Regions from separate parts of the Homo sapiens genome. Here region 1 is linked to region 2. Evidence: promoter capture Hi-C in human tissues and cell types (Jung and others, 2019). All regions are on one chromosome and are shown on one strand. The core of a region is centred on a gene start or on the middle of the fragment in contact, and the rest is flanking DNA. Distances in the headings are between cores, read along the strand shown.

The links. The method cuts DNA at HindIII sites, captures the fragments that hold promoters and counts their contacts. A contact is called where the count stands out against the background at its distance.
Region 1: a fragment that was not itself captured here is called in contact with the fragment with the promoter of CCDC85C in region 2 in 1 of the 25 tissues and cell types used here (mesendoderm cells).

What each region holds. Positions count from the first base shown.
Region 1 is chr14:99,788,018-99,790,932 of GRCh38, forward strand. It overlaps a transcript of EML1 not described here. Among named protein-coding and RNA genes, the nearest start is that of EML1, 3.9 kb to the right of the region's middle. RefSeq lists an enhancer at 1,614-1,753. The HindIII fragment of the contact is 8,796 bases long and covers 1-2,915 here.
Region 2 is chr14:99,602,498-99,605,456 of GRCh38, forward strand. CCDC85C (coiled-coil domain containing 85C) reads right to left here and starts at 1,710. Exons shown (of 6, transcript NM_001144995.2): 1 at 670-1,710. The coding sequence starts at 1,462. It also overlaps a transcript of HHIPL1 not described here. RefSeq lists enhancers at 1-558, 1,265-1,384 and silencers at 1,645-2,174, 2,315-2,454, 2,515-2,584, 2,765-2,914. The HindIII fragment of the contact is 22,433 bases long and covers 1-2,959 here.

The DNA.
Region 1 (2,915 bases), core at 252-2,751, 190 kb after region 2:
CTCTTAGAGTAAAATCAGAAGCCCCTGACAGGCTGTCCAAGGCCCGCTGCAAGCAGGGCCTCCCCATCTCCTACCCTAGCTTGCCTGATGTGGCTGCCCCTTGCTCTACCCACGGCTGTTCTGGTAGCTTCTTTTCCTCCTTATTCCAGTCCAGACCCTCAGAAATAATCTGAAATCCTTCCACCTAGCTTTGTTCCTTGGCGCTTATCATTTGTATTTATACAACTATCTGTACAATTATTATATGTCCAAATGTCTCTTAGATTGTGACCGTGACCCACAACAAGAAATGCCTTGTATTATACATCGCAACTCAGCACATGTAGGTACATTGTAAGTAAATACCAATGTTTCCAGCACAAATACTCGTTCTTACTATGCTCAGTGCAGTCCAAAATTGTCTATTCCATTTCATGTTAAAAACTGTGTTAGAATATACACAACAGCCAGGCATGGTGGTGTGTGTCTGTAGTTTCAGCTGCTTGGGAGGCTGAGGAGGGAGGATCGTTTGAGCCCAGGAGTTGGAGGCTCTAGTGTGCTCTGATTGCACTTGTGAATAGCCACTGCACTCCAACCTGGGCAACACATGGAGACTGTAAAATATCTCCCTAATATGTGTGTGTGTGTGTGTGTATGTGTACACACACGACATAAAAGTTACCATTGTAACCATCTTTAAGTGCCCAGTTATAAAGCATGAGGAGATTCACATTGTTCTGCTACCCACACCACCATTCATCTGCAGAACTTTCTCATCATTCCAAAGGGAAACTTTGCGCCCATTAAGCACTCACTTACTATTCCTTCCTCTCCCCAGCCCTTGGCAACCACCATTCCACTCTCTGTCTCTATGAATTTGACAACCCTAGGCACTTCGTGTAAGTGGAGTCATAGACTATTTGCGCTTTTGGGGACTGGTTTATTTCACGCTGCATAATGTCTTGATACATGCTGATAGCATGTATCAGAATTCCCTTCCTTTTTAGGATGAAATAAGATTCCACCCTATGGATGGACCACATTTTGTTTAACCATTCATCCATCGGTAGATACTCAGGTTGCTCCCACCCCTCGGCTATTGTGAATAATGCTGCTATGAACATGGGTGTATGAATATCTGTCCAAGTCCCTGCTTTCAACAATTTTGAGTACCCAGAAGTGGAATTTTCTATTTCTTTCTTTCTTTTTATTCATTTATTTATTTTTTTTGAGACAGCATCTTGCTCCATTGTCCAGGATAGAGTGCAGTGGCACGATCTCGGCTCATTGCAACCTCCACCTCCTGGGTTCAAGTGACTCTCATGCCTCAGCCTCCTGAGTAGCTGGGACTACAAGTGCTCACCTCTACGCCCAGCTAATTTTTGTATTTTTAGTAGAGATGGGGTTTCACCATGTTGGCCAGGCTGGTTTCGAACTCCTGACCTCAGGTGATCCACCCACCTCGGCTTCCCAAAGTGCTGGGATTACAGGCGTAAGCCACCATGCCTGGCCTCTATTTCATTTTAAACCTTGCCAATGATGACTCTTTAATTGACTTCACGGCTACCTGCAGTTCGGAAAGCACTGTGTTCTATGTGCTACATTCCCAGCCCCAAGCATAGGGCCTGGCACTGTGTAACTATTTTTGGTAGAGTGTTGGATTAAACAATAGATGCACAAGGCTGCACATTTCTGGGTGATTTTTAAAAATTGCCTTTCTATGAATAAAGGCTACAGAGCTTTCACTTTCCTTTCTCTTTTTCACACGTTGTACAAATGCTGCTATTAATTCCACTGAACACTGTGGTTATATTGTCCTACAGAGTACACATCATTTATTACAATGACAACATTTTTGGTGCTCAGGATATAAATTAACTCACAATGGCGTGGAATATCAGTCTGTTAAAATGTTTAGCAAAAACATCACACATTATTAATTTTCAGAGATTTTTCTTGAACTTTCCCCAAAGATCTTTTTTAATGCTGTGTAGATTATACCTAAGTGACTTAACATGCATATCATTGTAATTATTCTAAATTTAGCTTTTTTTTAGAGTAAGATTTTACCACTGTGGGAAAAACATAGCTGTTTAATACTCTAGGTTAAGAGAGCAATGATCTTCTTTATCATCTCAAAAGAAAGTGGACTGAGTTCTTAATTGTCTTATTTGTAACTTTAGTGGAAATAATATCTTCTAAGAAAATCTCCAGCTCAATTTGGCAGCTGAAGTTTTAAATATATGTCTCCTTTCCCATGTCTAAATTGTGGCCACCAAATATCATAACATTAAACATAAGGAATGCTAACATTCTTTTTTTCTTTTTAAGATCGGGTCTCACTCTGTTGCCCAGGCTGGAGTTGAGCATTGCCCCAGCTGCACTGTATGGAATGCAGTGGTGCAATCATAGCTCACTGCAGCCTCAACCTCCTGGGCCCAAGTCGTCCTCGCACCTCAGCCTCCCAAATAACTAGGACTACAGGCACACACCACCACACCCGGCTTTAAAGAAAACCATCTTCTAATTATTCATGATTATTACTTCCTTTTCAAGTTCAGAAATACCACACCTCAGCTTTTTATGCCAATCATCCAACATATCCTGAAGTATAAAACTGCAAAGTGGAATAGAGAGAGCATGAACACTGGAATAGACAGATGGGAAATGAGGAAGATGAAATGTGCATCTGGGTGTTAAGTCTCACCCTTTGAAAGCCGCTTCTCCATAGCACCTGCCTGCTGCCTTAGAGAGGCAGAGAACCCACCTGTGCCAGGCGGGCGCAAGAGGACACTTTACCTGGCCCTCTGCCAACTTTGGCCCCTCCCCCCATTTCCTTTCCCTGCCAAAGTTTTCTTTTTTTCTTTTCCTTTTTTTTTGTGACAGGGTCTTACTCTGTCATCTAGGCTGGAGTGCAGTGGTGTGATCTTGGCTCA
Region 2 (2,959 bases), core at 460-2,959:
ACACAGAGGAGAAAAGCTAGAATCCGTTCCAAATACATCTCCCTCGGGAAAGTCTTAGAGTCTCGGCTGAGAAAGGTCCCAGGACTAGAAGGGCGGAATTTATGGCAAACAAGAAAGGCTCTGAGCCCCAGGCCTCTCCCCAACTGCCTCTGGGTCTCAAGCGGCTGCCTGTGCACCTTCCCAATCCCCACACCCCACTGCAGAACTCCAGCCACCGCACACACGTGGACGCTGCTTGGTTTGGAGGACACCTGTTGCTGCAAGAGGGGAAATTCACTTGCGCTCAAGGGGCCTTGTATCCTTTGCTGTTTAGAACTTCCCGCTACTAGGCAAGGATTTCCAAGGCTGGGATGAGGCGCCCACCGCCAGCCCAGCAGTGACAGACCCTAATTTTGGCAACTACACCCGCTAGAAACTTTTCTGGGACCGGACCGGCAGCAGGTTCTGAGCTGGACAAAAAGACGCTCCACCACTGAACCGGCCCACCACCGCCCAAAGCCCCACTTTGGGTGAGTGCGGGATCCCCTGGCCCAGGATCCATGACAGCTGGAGGAGTCTGGAGTGGCGGCCGCATGAGTGGGACAGCCAGGGACCACCTCCTCTCGCCGCAGCCTGGGAAAAGGGCTGCAGCCAGGGAGACCCGCGCTGCCCGGCCCGTGTAGTCCTTACCGTGCAGGCCGTTGGGGATGCTGCGGTGGTGCGGCGGCGCCGACAAGTCGTCCAGGGACCGACGTGTGGCTCCTGCCTTGCCGTCGGGGGCCTTGTGCGGCCCGGGGGGCAGCAGCGGGGGTGGGACGTGGTGGTGGTGGTCGGGGCTGCCGCCGCTGCCCGCGCTGGACGTACTGCTGCCGTCGCCCACGTCGCGGGCCCCCGCGCCGGGCGCGCCACCCGACAGCGGCCCGCTCAGGCTGGCCTGGCTGTCGATGGAGCTGCGGGAGCCGGCGCCGCCCCCGCCGCCGCCGCCACCGCTTGCGGCCCCCGTCGCCGCCAGTGCCGCGCGCTCCTCGTCCAGCAGCAGCACCAGCTCCTTGAGCTCCAGGTTCTCGCGCAGCAGGGCCTCCTGGCGCGCCTCGAGCTCGCGCAGCTTCTGCTGCGAGCGGGCCACCTCGTGCCACACGGCGCCGGCCGCGTGGCGCCCGAAGCGCTGCCACTCGCGCGCCAGCTTGCGCCCCTTCTGCCGGTCGTCGTCGAGGAAGCAGCAGAGCTCGCGCAGCTCCTGGTTGTCGTCCTGCAGCCGCTGGTTCACGTCCTTGAGGCCGCGGATCTCCAGCAGGTGCTGCTGCAGCCGCCGGTTCACGTCGCGCATCAGGCCGCCGTGCTCCAGCATGAGGCCCACCTTCTCGCCCTCGGCGCGCCGCAGCCGCCGCGCCAGCTCCTCCTTGCTCCAGCGCAGCAGCTCCTCGTCCGGCACCTGGCTCAGCTCCTCCGACGCCGCCGCCGCCGTCGCCGCGGGCTTAGCCATGGCGGGGCCGTCACCGCGGCATCGCCCTCGCCCTCGCCCGGCCGGCGCTTCCCCGCGCCGGGGCTCCGCTGGGCCGGTCCGCGCGCGGGCGGGGGGCGGCCGGGGGCGCGTGCGGCCCGCCCCGCGCCGCCTGGCGCGTCCTCTCGCCGCGCCCGCCGGGGCCGCCCGGGAGCCCGCGCGCCTCGGGGTTGACGAGCGGAGGCGGCTGCTGCGTCGGCGGCCGCGGTGCCGGGCGCTCTCAGGGTTCTGGAGAAGCAGGCGGAGGCCCGCCCCCGGCCCAGCTCCCGGAGCCCCCGCCGCCCCGCCCACCCCGGGCGGAGAGTGGGCGGGTCTCCGAGGCCCGGCCCCGCCCCCGAGGGCGACTGGGGAGCAGAGGCGCGGCCCCCGCCGTCCCCCTGCGCGGTGCGCCCGCCCGTCCAGTGCCCTCTCAGAGGCGCGTTCCGGCCGCGGTCCCGCCCTCCCGGCCGGGCGATTGGGCCGCTCCGGGGGTGTGCGGGAGGGGCGGGGCGCGCGCGGGGGAAGCTGCGGCGGTGGTACGGTCCATCCGCGGGGTTTCCGACCCCCGCCCGCGGCCGGCTCCCGGCGGTTCAAGTTTCTGCGCCCGGAGGACGCGGCCTTAGCCAATCCCAGGGCTACAGGGCGCTTTTAAAATGCAGGTACGGCTGCGGGGAGGGGGACGGTGGGAAAGGTAGGGCCGGGCTTCCCTTAAAGGCGACGCGCGAAAATAGCAGTCGAGCCCCCTCCCCGGCCCGCGTCCCCGGTCCTCTTCCCTCTCCCCAGATAAACAAATACCCACGATCCGGGCGACGGCGCCCCTTCTCCCTCCCGGGGGCACCAGAGTTCAGGGCAGTCGGAGACACAGCGAACAATAGGACTGTGACATGGGGGTCGCTCTTCCCCGCAGCAGGGCGGCTCTTTGTCCCCTTCCCTGCCCCCAGGCTCCTCCGCCCCCGTCCCCACCCGGGTCCCCTGCCGGAGCACGCGGCGGGGCTGCGTCTCCACTCCTAGCCCAGGGCTGAGCTAAACGCTGGCGTCCGCGCCCCTGCAGGGCCAGGGCCTTGCCAGCCGCGTCCCGCAGCGCGGTCAGTACTCTCTGCCCCGATGGGGCGAGAGCTCCGGGAACCTGCCCCCTGCCCGGAGCGGCGCTCGGAGCCCCGCTCCACCTCCGCTCACTCGACCGCTAAATCCCTGGGATTCGGGAGATAATCTGCAATTCGCGGGGTGGAAACCACTGGGAAGGGTGGGAAGGTCTCCCACTGGGGCCTGAACGCCGGGGTCCGGGGGCGCCGAGCCGGCCACAGAACTCCCCACCGGCGGCCTCGCGGGACCCCCGGGCTTCCCACTGCCTGTAAGTCTGTCTCGTTATCCTCCGGTCCCCAAAGCGCATTTACGGCGCGTCTACCGCCAGCAGGCGGGGCGGGGCGGGGCGGGGGGGGGTCCCTCCCCCGGAACCTGCAACGAGATCAAATCCGCGCACGCGACAGTGAGCGGCCCACG